Regions from separate parts of the Homo sapiens genome. Here region 1 is linked to region 2. Evidence: promoter capture Hi-C in human tissues and cell types (Jung and others, 2019). All regions are on one chromosome and are shown on one strand. Each heading gives the region's core, a stretch centred on a gene start or on the middle of the fragment in contact. The rest is flanking DNA. Distances are from core to core; before and after follow the strand shown.

Region 1 (7,081 bases), core at 4,498-6,997, 140 kb before region 2:
TGGTGGTAAGGGTCAAAGCAAAGGAAGCATTAATTCTGGAGTCAGCAGCTATAACAGCAGGTTCCTGATTATGACAAGAACACTGGCTCCCTGTTTCAAGGCAGTATTTGTAGGTGACTTTCTAAAGAACTATAGTCAGATATGTTAGATTGGGCAAAGAACTCTTCGATGAGACTGAAAATTCAACAAATGAGAAGTTTCCAGGGAAATGTCAACCCAAGTAGAAATTTTATAATGAACTACCCAAGAAGCACTTACAGAATAAATATAGGACTAAAACAGGAAGTAAAGCACAGTAGATTGGTCTGGACTTGGGCACTCACTATGCCGCTATGTGATTTTTGAACCAGTTTATAGGTCTTACATTCATTTATAAAATGGGAGTCATATAATGGTACCTACCCATTTTGTCTTACATTCATATATAAAATGGGAGTCATATAACGGTACCAACCCATTTTTATAAAGAGCAAATGAGATAATACTTGTAAATAATCTAAATATTTTAATGTGTGTTCGTTATTGACACTGTTAAGATAGTGAGTATTTATTTATAGAACTATATAGCTGTAAAAGGCCTTAAAGAACATCCAATCCAACTTCTTTCTTTTAAAACACCATGGCCAAAAAGGATGAATGAAGTACAGTTCCTACACTCAATAAGCTCTTAATCCAGATAAGAAAAAAAGACTTAAAAAAAAATTTGGCACTATATCATTGCAATTTTTCAACACAGAAACTGACATTCTTATCACATGATATTAAGTAGACAGGAGGTCAATATAGCAAGAAAATTTTTAATACCAGGAACAACCAAATGATACAAATATTTAAAACAAAAATTTTTATTCTCTTTCCATACTATCTTAAGGATTTTGGCCCACATTTCCTTTCTATGTTCACCATGATAGGGAGGCTTTCTAATCTTTATTAGTCCCAAACACATATATAAGACAATAGTCTTCTTTCGCCTAGAGCCTATCTCTATCACTCATGCAAATCTGCCATTGCCAACAACCTATCTGTCAAGTCATCTGACTAGCCTTAGTACAGTTTCCACAATCTTAGCTCACTGTAGTCTTGATCTCCTGGGCTCAGGCAATCCTCACTTCAGCTTCCCCAGAAACTAGGACCACAAGTGTGCACTACCATGCCCAGTTAATTTTGTTTATTTTTTGTAGAGACAAGGTCTCACTATGTTGCCTAGGCTGGTCTCAAATTCCTGGGCTCAAGCAATCCTGCTGCCTTCACCTCCCAAAGTGCTGGGATTATAGGCATAAGCCACCATGCCCAGGCCTTACCAATATTTTTTTATATACCCATCTATGGTGAACCTTCTCTGCATCAAGACTATCATGGTACTCTTTTTTTTTTTTTTTGAGACAGAGTCTCGCTCTGTCGCCCAGGCTGGAGTGCAGCGGCTCGATTTCGGCTCACTGCAAGCTCCACCTCCCGGGTTCATGCCATTCTCCGGCCTCAGCCTCCCAAGTAGCTGGGACTACAGGCGCCTGCCATCACACACGGTTAATTTTTTATATTTTTAATGGAGACAGGGTTTCACCGTGTTAGCCAGGATGGTCTCGATCTCTTAACTTCGTGATCCGCCCGCATTAGCCTCCCAAAGTGCTGGGATTACAGGCGTGAGCCACCGCGCCCGGCCTATCATGGTACTCTTAATAAATGGAAAGAGAACAGAAGAAACCTACAATATATTTTTATGTACTTCAGCAAAGACAGCCAATTTCTCAATTTCACTTCCCAATTTCCCAATTTGATTTAAGTTCACTATGTACCCAGCTAAAGGACTATATTTAGCTTCTCTTGTAATTAGGAGTGGACATGTGTGGAAATGATGTAAGCCTGGCCCATAAGAAACTGTCCTTTACATTGCCCTAAGCTCTTTCCCCTTCTGGCTGACAGGGATGGGCCACAGCCACCTTGGAGGTCACATGTTGGAAGACAGTAGAATCTCCATCAGCCTGGGTCCCCTGAAGAACTCCTGGCAACCAGGACAACTGCCTCAGAGTTTATTTGTTACAGAAGCTACCACTATCCTAATTCAGCCATTAAAAGGGTAGAGTTGTTAGAATGTAGTAACACTGACACCTTATACTTACAAATTTAAAATGGTGTAGAGAAAACTAAATACCAAAACCTTTCCGTGATATTATTATAAAAAATTATTTAAATGTTTTCTGCATTTTCATTTATATTTTTACTTCCTCTGGTAGTACTTATAATTTAACCATCTTATCATGAAATTTTATTTCTGAAAGTAATCTGTGGCCTAGCAGAAAAACATTTTATTAAAAGAAAAATTATTAAGAAAAACAATTTCTACAGAAAGGCTTTCCAGGTAGTTTCTTGGGTAAGTAACATGAAGAACTTAAAGTCTGAGTAAGACTTACCAGTGATGTACAAGAAGCAGGATGATTGTAAGGATACCACCACACTGTTTTATAAATGTTGATGTACTGAATGAAAAGAGCAACCAACAGGTAGATGAAAAAAAGGAATTCAAAGAGTAGGCTCCCATCCACAGGCAAGTCAGGAATTTGGCAATGACGAACAGGACCTGGGGTGATTAAGGCTGTGATAGGTGGGACTGGAAGGCCAATAGCACTACCATTCCTGAAAGAGAAAACTATGGTTAACTCAAATGGTGATAACCTCCAGTATCACAGAACATAAAGGGCTCCTGCTGTCTCCTCCATCTACCCCTTCACTGTCTGCTTTCCCCACAAGACTCCATCCTGGGATCCTCTTTTCTCCCTCCACACTTTCTGTCAGTGATCTAAGATGCAGCTATGGCCTCCATTATCTCCTACATGATGAAGACTATAATTTCTCTCCATAGAGCTCACTGCTAAATTATAGACACATTATTCAACTCCCTACTGGACATCTCTGTGTTCTTCCCTCCTATAGTCCTGACCTTAGTTCATGGCCCACTCAGTTAGCTGCCCACATCAGAAACCTGGGAGTCATATTAAAACTTTTCTTGGCCAGGCGTGGTGGCTCACACCTGTAATCCCAGCACTTTGGGAGGCCGAGGCGGGCGGAACACCTGAGGTCAGGAGTTCAAGACCAGCCTGGCCAACATGATGAAATCTCATCCCTACTAAAAATACAAAAATTAGCCAGGCATGGTGGTGGACACCTGTAATTCCAGCTACTTGGGAGGCTGAGGCAGGAGAATCGCTTGAACTTAGGAGGCGGAGGTTGTGGTGAGCTGAGGTAGCACCATTGCACTACAGCCTGGGCAACAAGAGTGAAACTCCATCTCAAAAACAAAACCAAAAAAAGAATATAAAAATAGATTTAAGAATCTATTCAGAACCCATATAAATTCTCTAGCAATGAGTTGTGACAACACATGTGAAGTGCTACTCATCCAGGAAAGCTCATTAGAGACTTGATGCCCAGGGTTTTTATTGGGGGCTGGCCACATGGGCACCTTCTTTCTAGCAGTACCAAAATTCTAGACTCCCAAAAAGAATGCAGGTGTTCAACATAGCTACTCTTAGGAAGGCCTGCTTACAAGGCTTACATCTGGGAACCATGACTAGTAAACAGTTCCCTACAGTGATATAAACTTTCCCTAAATAACTAGAGTGGCTCACTGTGCCTAAACTGTTTATACAAACAATGTGGTTTATGCTGAACACCTGTGTTTTGTCCTTGCATATAAAGTTTGTGTGTGGCAAAGGGTTAACACAGCAGGCCTGAGACTGACTGGTATGGAGCCAGCAAGCAGCAGAATTTAGGGAAGCAAATGGATGAAAGAAGAAAGATTCAAAGGCATAAAGAGGAATAGAAGAGGTAGGGAAAGCAGTGGTCATTTGGACACGTTCAGGTGATATTATTAACAAAGTATATGCAAGGAATAAGCAAAGAAAACAATAGTTCTTCTCAAATAAGATTCTCCCTCAATCAGGAACTCTCTAAGAAATCCAGAAATACACAATATATCTTCCTTTTTTAAAAGGATAATACTTTAAATACACTGTTGCAAGAACAAATCCCTGCTCCCCAAAGGTGGACAGCAGGACAAGGAACTACAATTTCAACCTTGACTGTGTTACCAAACTAGCTCCTTGACATTCTAGAGTTTAACTTCACCAATCAGACCACAAGCACCTACCAAACAGGGACAAATTCTCTCCTCTCCAGCTGACCTATGTCTGTCTTGCAGAATCAAATGTATCATCCAAAAGTATGTAATACTGAAGCAATTATCTATTTCCCTCCAATACTCTATAGACACTCCAGAAGTGAGTTCTCCTCATCTGGACACTCCTTCTTTCTATATATCCTTCCTAAAACTATATTATAAGCTATCCGCTAGTTCTTTCATGTTTTCATACCTCGTCCCCAGGTCTTTTATAACAAATTATTCCAGCTGCTTGCTTCCCACCAAGAAAGAAATATAAAGCTTTCTTTTCCCCAAATAATTTCTCTAGGTAAACATGTCACAAATAATCACTCAATAATAGTCTTGGTGACTTTTCAAACCATAAACAATTATTTCTTTCATTTTAAAATGTTGGAAAATACTTTTTTCTACCCACTCCCTCCCTCCCCCCAGTTAATTGCTAAATAAACATATGTTAAAGGAGGAGAGAAAGGCAGATTAAAGCAACCATGGTTGGAACCTTGAATACCAGGATAGAAGAGCTACAGTGAAGGCAGAGAAAAGAATACCAAACCCAGTCAAGAGCCGAGGTATTTTCCGAACGTTCCTACTTCTTCCCAGTATACCATCTGCAGACTCTAAGTGCAAGCAGAAGCATCTACAAATGACATTTTCATTGGCTTTCAGTTCTTTTTAATAGCAGAACGCTTTATTTTCCTTTCCTCATGATATTTTACATAGTATCTTAATATTTAAAACACATAGGAAAATGAGTCAGTCTAATTAAAAGAAGACGAGGAAAACTCAAGCCTAGACTGTTAGGCTTGCCTGATCCATTTTCCCTTCTAAGCCCTCCTACAGCAACCCCTGAGACACTGAAGAGGGATTTCATGGGACAGTCTAAGAACATTTTTATCTAGAGAACATAATTATCTAGAGGAATCCTCAAAGCCAAAGTCAAAGAGAACGAACAAAGAACTGCTAGAGTTAGGAGGCAAAGTTAGAATTTTTTAGTTGGCTAGAATCCTAGTTAGGGACAGCTAAGATTTTCTATCACAATTTGAAAGTACTGAATCAATAAGTTGATAGCATATATTAATAAAATTAAGGCATGTACCTCAAAGAGCAAACAACTTTTATCTCAATACCTATATTAGATAGTACCTTTCTTCAAAAGCATTTTCGCATATTCTCATTCTTATTTTTAAGTATATAAAATAATACTTATTTGTAGAAATTTTGTAAAATTCAGTAAAGTTTTTTAAAGTTACTGCAATTTACTACTTCATTTATTTCAACATCCTGCTATGATGCAAACAGTACCATCATTTTTAAAATAAGGAAATCCAACGAACGGCAGAGTAAAAAATACTCTAGCATAAACTAGTTACTCTGTATACATACATAAACAAAACTCGGATTAAAAATTAGTATGAGAATCGGAGACTGGAAAAATCCCTTCAAACTGGAATTTCAGGGAGAGCTCCACTGAAATGATGAGATCAGAACTAATTTTAAAGATTGGGTGGAAGAGGGATTGGAAAGTCAGGAAAAAAAAAGGACAAAGGTCAGGCCTAGAAAACAAAAGTGCATAAATACCATTAGACAGGCCTGAAAATACAGTAGTACTGATTGCTAGCTCTGAAAATTAAAATCAAGACAAGAGAAAAACTTTTTTCAGGGAGGAAGGAGAAATTAGCTGGCAGAAAATATCTTGAGCAAATACTTCATTAGGTAAAAGTATCTCTTTGAACTGCTACATTATCAAACCTCCTGATGGCATGGGCTAACCCAGCTAAAAAACAGCTAACATTTATTAAGACCAAACAATTTTTTGACAATTTAAAATCCTTGATGGAATTTGACTTATAATTTGCCCTCTAAAAAAAGAATGCTTATAAGTAGATAAACCATCACACTTACCTTGTATTTTCATTCACTTCTCCCTTCTTCTAATAGATAAAAAGGGGATAACAAGAATTTAGATGATCAGCCAAAATAAAGAATGGGACTGCTTTCACTTTGTGGGCCCCATTTCACATCTTTTTACCTCCAAAGTATTTTGGAATTCTGAATTTTGTCTTGAAGGGCAGGATTTCTACCACAGTGTCAAGAATAAATCTCAATAAGCAAATATCTGAATGACATGATGACTTTTATGTTAGTCTTACTGATCAAAGGACATTAAAATTATATATAGCCTTATTTTTTCTTTACCTGTTTCTCAAGCCTGTTCCATTGCCACAGCCTCCACCAACCAAAGTCTGCAAAGAAGGTAAAGCTGAACGGCTTAGCTGTTGCCGACTAGGGCCCCTCCTTCCACCGGGCATGTCCAGGAACCAGTCTGCTTCCAGTGCCACCTGTAGTTGCAACCCAGGTTAATGGTTGTCAACCAGTTTCAACTCTGAACGACAACAAAAACATTTAAACATCAGTAGACTATTTTTAAAGTAGGCAACAAAACAACGACAAACACTGAGTAAGCAGGCCTTACAAAATAAGATTTTCAAACGAATGTTCCCAGTGTCTACTACTTACGTTATTCGAATTAAAGGACTACTCAGACTCTAATGGGTCAAAAGCCTAAGTTCTGATCTAAGCTCTGTTCAGCTTTAGGCAAGTGATGATTTGTGTCTTTTGTCAACTGATTTGTATCATCTGTAAGATATTATAATCAAATAGAAGTTTACAAGAAACATCACACCTTATACATTTCCAGCTCAATGTTTCACACTTAAACTACTTGAAATATAGAAGAATTGGCACTTTATAAAACATTAGGTTTTGTTATCAAGGGATATGGCTTGTGAGCTCAGATGGTCACATATTATCTGACCTTATCCGGATAAGTTAACTTCTGAGTGTGTTCTTCTGAGTGTGTTTCTTCAAGGGGGGGGGGCGGGGGGGGGGAGTGTCCCCTGTTCTGCAGAGGTTGTCAGGACTGAG
Region 2 (6,898 bases), core at 867-3,366:
GACATGGCTATTGTAAGTATTAACAGAAGACTAGTGGTTCTAGCATGCGTACGATCACCCGAGGAGCCTGCTGGAACTGCAGAGTCCTGGGCCCAGTTCCAAAGATTCTCATTCTGTGTGTCTGGGGTGGATCCAGCAATCTGTCCCAAGTCAATTGGATGGTTGTGAGGCAGGGGGTTCTGGAAGGGACCACTCTGACCCCGCTTGGAGAGCTCTGTGCTAGATGTTGGATGTGAAAGAAAGTGAAAGTGCTCTCTCAATGTCAGCTGTATTCATGCCATGCACAAGGGCACCCTGGATTAACTATCTCTGGCCACGGTGTGGGTGGCTAGGAAAACAGCCCTCAGTTCTCCTGCTGTAGGGAAAATGATTGACTGATGGCTCCAGCTGCTGTCTTCTGAATCTACCTCTGTCTTTGTGCTGAGGCTGACCTCAGCTAATGACTAAGCAAGATGTGGCTGCTAATGCAGGCTCATTTCTACAAAACACATCTGCTGTCACAAAAGACTTTGGCCTGAGGAGTCCCCATTGGCCTGGTCAGAATATTCTAGAAACTGTGCTGCAGCCTGAGACTCTTCCTATGTAATCCTCTCTTTCCTGCCCATTCTCTTTCACAGGTATCAGATGTTCACCACCATCTAAAGGCGCTTCCTGGCTTCTCTAGTACCTCTTATTCTTTACAGGTGTTAGCTCGATAAATCTCTTGCATATCTTGTCTTACCTTGGCATCTTCTTCTCCGAGGACCTGAACTCATACACTTGGCTTGGTCTCTAATATCAAGACAGCTTTCAGTAGTGACCTCTGCTGTGCACTACTTATTGCCACACCCCTTCCTGGTTGCAGCAGCACTTGAGCAGTGAGATCATGTGCACAAGGGGATGTAAGGGCTAGCCCCTCCAAAATAATTGTATCCTGCGTTCAGCCATGATGACATGGTCCCAGAGCCTCTTCAGGAGTTGTTGCTGTAGAGTATCGTTGCTCAGAGCATGGATTCTGGGGCTGGCTCATCCCGCTTTAAATCCCAGCTCTGCATGACCTCAGGCAAATGACTTAAATTCTCTGTGCCCTACCAGCTGTGTAAAACACAAATGTTTGTATTTAATACAAATTACTTCTATCACAGAGAAGTAATTTGTACTTATCTGTGCTTACTAACTGTGTAATTGTCACAGTTAAGTAATTTGTATACAATTATAATACAAATAAGTAATTTGTTGTACAAATTACTTAACTTCTCTGTGATAATACTCACCTCAGAGAGTTATTGTTTGGAAAAGATGATCCTGGCCCTGCCAGTGGGCTGTCTACCTCACAGCAATGTGTTATGATTTAGGGAGTGGGGGGCAAGTGCCCTGCCCTCTGCCTCTGCCCCATTGACTTGCCTAGAAATAGCTCTTTGTGGTTTCTGCCACTCTTTGGGGTGGAGAGGCCATATGGTGCTGGAACCATCTTGGTTCCAGGCCCGGCTCTGCCACTTCCACCAACGGGATCTCTACAGGTCATTTTCTTTTTCTAATATGCAGTTTCTTTGTGAATTCAGGAAGTTGAACATCTCCAAAGTTGGACTTGACTCCTAGCCCCAAGATTCTACAAAATGATAGTACTCTCCAGAGGAAACTTTTTCTTCCCTTCTTCCCTTTAAATGGACACTTAATATATAGTATTATCTCAGTCTTGTGCTAGGCACTGGGTATTCAAAAATGAAAAGAGAAAGCCTTTGCTCTCAAGTCACTCAGAATCTTCTAGGGAGACACACATGTCCACAGATAATTCCAACACAATGAGGGGTTTCTGGCCACCCAGAGATGCAGGACTTCTGCCTTGGTTATTACTAACATCCTATCACGGGAAGTGGGAGAGGTGCAGGAAATAGTTTCCTGATCATGTTTGGCTCAAAGAGGGACAGTGTGTTTCAATGCACTCTGGTTAACAAAAAAGAAAGTGTATTTATTTTCATTGAGAAGAAGAAACCGAAAACTCTGGCATTTAAATAAATAAAGAAGAATTTATTTTTCCTTTTCAGGTCATGAGGCTAGTTAATGATTAGTGAAATCCACGTGGGTGTTTTCTGAGAGGCTGGGTTATATGATCTCTTTGGCTTTAGGGAATTACTCCATACCAGCTCTGAGATTTCCAGCTCAGCGATGCCCCCAGGTCCCTGGGAGAGCTGCTTCTGGGTGGGGGGCCTCATTTTGTGGCTCAGCGTTGGAAGTTCAGGTAAGCCAGGGCTCAGGCCTTGGGAGGAACTTATTTCAGTCAGTGATCATATTTCTCCAACTACTTATGCAGTACTAACTTTTGGAAGATCCCCTAAAAGCCTTTTGCCTCTTCTGAGGTGAATTTAAAACAGTAGGGGAAAAAAACCCCTTTTATCATAATCGGAATGATGGTAAACAGGTCACAAAACCTGAACTTTCCCTGGTTATCCGACTCATTTTTCTAAAGCCCACATAAAAAAACCCTTTCTCACCTTGCACAAGCCAGGACCAACTGTAAGAAAATAAAATTTGGTTAATTCTAAGATATTCATTTTTCACCCCATAAATATCCACCATTCCAAGATATATTTAATTTTAAAATTTAGGTTTTCCAAACTAATAATGATTTTGTCACTGAGATTGTTAGATGTCCTTTCTAATCCAGCAACCTAACTCAAGTGGTTTGTCATCCTGGCTGGGTGATGGGAACTAGTCCCTGCTAACCTCAGATGCCCCTGGGAAAACTTCCCTCAGATGCCAATTTGCATTTACCTTTCCCCCAGTAAAGAACTGACCCACTGATCCCTCTTGCCTAACAGAAAATTAACCTGCTCTACTTTGGGTTCTCAGAAGTTCTCAGAAGACTCCTTCTCACTATGGTGAGGTCACCCTTAGAAAAATCCCCTCCCTCTACTCACAATAGCAGGCTGCTTTTCTGTCTTCTCCGCTGGACATTTAATTCTCATTCCCTGGCTCTAGAATATGTCATTGCTTCTGCCTGGGGTTGCTCACATCACCTTTGGATTGATTTCTGTTCTTTGCATCTTTCAAGGGGGCTTCTGTATTCCTATCTCCCTTGTACTCATTCTTTTTCTGCTCAGCACCCCTCCCTGCTACAAAGTTCCACTGGGTGACTGCATGCTCTCCTTGCACTCATGGGTGGTTTTTCAGAGGTGCTGTTGAGCTCTGTATGTGCTTTCTCCTACCTCAATTAGTTGTCCCTAAAAGGTGAGGATTTGAGGCTTCTGTCTCTTTTAGCATAGTTAGTGCTGTGCTCTGTATAGAGCAGATGTCCAGTGAATATTGCAGACATTGATGCTTAGAGGAGGCAATGGGCTGAGCTGATGGGGAATAGGCTCTGTCTGGGTCGGGCTAACCCAGACTGGAATCCTGGCTCTGTTTCTTTGTAGCTATGTGACCTTGAGGAAGTGGCTTTCTTTACCTGTAGCTAGAGATGATCCTTACCAGATAGGAATGCTGTAAGGACTGAATGGGATCATCTGTGCACAGGGCCTGACTTTTGCAGTTGCTTATTCCTTTGTGATTTTATTATTAGCAAATTGTTGTCTAGGCTGATGGAAGTGGAGGGAACAGGGCTGTCATGAGCCACCTTGGAGAGAAGGTGGGAGGTATCACCTAGGAGAGCTGTGGGTCCCGTTCTGAGAAGTGGGCTTGGCAGGCCCACTTTGTCCCTGCTCAGGAGCCCCAGGCCTCCTTAGGGGCTGGAAGGCATTTGCTAGTTGTCCTGATTTGAAGGTTGAGGAGTGGGAGGACTATAGCAAATTGGCATCAAACTCTTTTTGGAAGCTCATCTGTCGGTAAGCCTGGGGCCTCTGTCACACAGATAAGAGAAGCTCAGAAATTCTGAACCAGATAGCAGGGTTAGGGTCAGCGCAGAAGCTGATCAGGTTCCAGCCACATATGTGGGAATCATTCTAGATGCTCTGGGCAGGAAGTGGGCTTATAATAACATGTTAGCAGGGCCTGGGTATTTCCTTGCCTGGTCTTCTTGCCTTTGTTTGTCTCTGGTGTCTTTCTTTTCACACTTACCCAGTGAGGCATTCTCTATTTCCCATCCGCTTCTCTTCCTTTCCCACCTTAACTGAGTGTTTCACTGTCAACAGCAACAATATTTATTAAGTTAATGTTCCTTATTCTTACTTTTAGTAGTGCTGTCTCAGAAATTAAGTGAGTTGATGGATAGGCAGAGATAGAAGTGTGTGTGCGTGTGTGTGTGTGTGTGGCTGGGAGGGATAGAAATATGCCAAAGGGAAAAGGAAAAAGGATGTAATTGACTTCAGACAGCCTAGATGAAGTAGGTGGACAGAAAGAAGATGCCGGATGCAGAGAGCTCAAGGTAAAGGAAAGGAAGAGCTCAAATGATCGGGAGGGAGGAGGTTCAGGAGGTATCCAGGTGCCTGCTGTCACACAAGGGCAGTAGCTGACCCACATGGGCCTCTTGGAAGTTCAGCCTCCACTCACTTTCCTGGCTGTGTACCCACACAATCTTTCATGACAACCCCAGTCACACCTAGTTTTTCCTTGGACTGTGGAGCTTTAGATTGTTGAGCTCCTTGATCAACCTGGCCCTTGAGCTTCCAGGCTGGCTCAGGCGTCCTCTCCTCCAGGTGGATGCACAAGTCTTCCTCCATCTGGGGTAGGTGGTCTTTCTTTGTGTTCTCTCAGTACCTATGTTTCCTGGTCACAGATCTTACATCCCTATTTGCTGTGGGGCCTGCTTATTTTCCCTTTCTCCGCTAGACTTTGAGCTCCCAAAGGGCAGTTATGGCTGGCGTCTTCTTCATCCTTGAATCCCCAGAGCCTCACCCAGGCCCAGGCACACAGGACACATTCAATAAGCCAAAAGCCTTGGTAACTGAGAAGAAAGAAATTGAGCGGGCTGCAGTCCTCATCTCTACTTCCTGACGTTAGGCAGATTGATTAAATGACACTCATCCTGAAACAATTCAGCCAAAGAAGGGTTCCAGAGGGTGGCCCATTTCAGAGACACTCCTGGCTGCTGATGCCTCAATCCACAGGTCATCTGATAGCACAGCTCTGTCTGTGGGGAGCCCAGGGCTCAAGGGGGTGGCAGGAAGTTCAGTGGCCCATAGTGCTGAGCTGGTGGCAGAAGCAGCCTGTGACACCAGCCTCTGTAAGGCCAGCCTGGGCCTGAAGGTGGTGCTGCACCCTGCATGCGTGGCAGAGCCACCCTCAAGTCAGCTATTGGGAGGGGGCCTCCGCCCTCCTCCCCTCCTGCAGTGTCTTCCCGAGGAGCCTGGAGGAGGGTGCCTGCTTCCCGACACATGCACCGATGGCTCCTCTGTCATCTCCACATTTGATAACAAAGTGTCTGATGTGGTTTTGTGCCAACTCTGTCACTGCCAGAACACCCTTCCCTTCTTGGTCCAGGCCACAGAATCAAAACTGTTTTAGCAAAATAACACTTCTACGAAACAAAAGCCCATGGGGGATACCGATCTACAGAACACACCTGAGACAGGTGCAGGTGGGAGTGCAGAGTAGCACATTTCCAGCATTTGCAGATCACAGAGGCCACCCATGGGAACCATGAGCAGCCCAGGCGGGTGAAGGGAGCTCTGTCATATATGCCTGAGAGTCACTTTCCATTATGGAAACATGGGTGTTACCAGGCCTTACTCACCCTTCTCTAACACTTCTTCAGTGTCAAAGACTCAAGAATAGAAAACTATAGGCTATTTTCAGACTCAGACAAGCCAGTATTTCATTCTGCACCCCTCATTTCTATTGTTTATAAATCTCTGGTCAGCCTGGCCAGATACTCATGTGTCACTGTTCTTTGGTTGGAGTGGTGGCTAGGTAGAGGCAGTATCTGAATATGCTTCCCTATTTATCAGCTTCAAATACTGGCAATTTTCTTCTCTCCCTTTTCAAACTTTATAACTTTTATCCCATTGCATTGTCTTGTTTCAGTGGTTAGGACTAGGTCCTCTAGCACAATATTTAATAGAAGCAGTGATAGCAGACATTTCTTATCTGTTCCCTGTTCTAAATGGAATACTTCTAATATTTCCCAGTAAATCTAATCCTTACTGTAGGCTTTTAGGAGATATCCTTTCTTATGTTAAAGAGGGTTGAATTTTGTCAAGTGTTCTTTTTTTCTGCTCATCCGTTGAGATGAGCATATGGTTTTTCTTCTTTAGTTTGTTCATACGTGAATTATATTAATACTTTTTTTAATGTTAAAACAGCCTTTAATTCTTTGCAAAGAATTGGCCCAGCAAACCTTGCTGGGCCATGATGTACTTTGTGGTCTTGTTATCCTGGATGGATTTAGATTTGCTGATATTTTATCTTAGATTTCTGTTTATGTTTATAAATGAAAGTAGCCTTTAGTTTTTCCTTCTCCCCTGTCCTTTGCACTTTTGGTACTTCGGATATTCTCATAGAATGAACTGGAATCCTGTCTCCCATTTTCTATTCCTGGAACAGCATGTGTAAGCTAGGGATCAATAGAATTCCTCTGTGAAACTCTCAGGCCTCTTAGACTTTTCTGAGGGATAGTTTTGAAACTAGTGTTTCAATTCCTTTATGCTATAGTTTTACATTTGATTTTCTGTTTTTCCTTTCTTGACTAAGTTTTGGTAAGTTACGTTTTTCTAGGAAATGATCCATTTTCTAGCAAAATATCAGTATTTTCAGTTTTGGGGTGGATATAAACTTTTTTATGGTGTAAGGAAATCTACTGTCTGTATTTATATACCTTTTTTATTCCTGATATTGTTTACTTTTAACTTCCCTTTGTTCTGTTACTCTGTCTTATCAAAAGTACATCTAGCTCATTATTCTTTTCAAAGAGCCAGTTTTGGGTACTGGCTCTTTGTGTGTGACAGGTACTATTTTAGGCAGTAGAGTGAACAAAATGGATTTTAAAAAT

Evidence for each region. Contacts are between HindIII fragments. The study calls those that stand out against the background at their distance.
Region 1: a fragment that was not itself captured here is called in contact with the fragment with the promoter of PLA1A in region 2 in 2 of the 25 tissues and cell types used here (stomach and thymus).

The regions. Positions count from the first base shown.
Region 1 is chr3:119,455,610-119,462,690 of GRCh38, forward strand. It overlaps TMEM39A (transmembrane protein 39A), which reads right to left. Exons shown (of 9, transcript NM_018266.3): 2 at 6,353-6,539; 3 at 2,409-2,631. The coding sequence starts at 6,465. Among named protein-coding and RNA genes, the nearest start is that of TMEM39A, 4.5 kb to the right of the region's middle. The HindIII fragment of the contact is 7,294 bases long and covers 2,101-7,081 here.
Region 2 is chr3:119,595,769-119,602,666 of GRCh38, forward strand. PLA1A (phospholipase A1 member A) reads left to right here and starts at 2,117. Exons shown (of 11, transcript NM_015900.4): 1 at 2,117-2,218. The coding sequence starts at 2,146. RefSeq lists enhancers at 2,796-2,985, 4,814-4,953, 5,134-5,633. The HindIII fragment of the contact is 21,246 bases long and covers 1-6,898 here.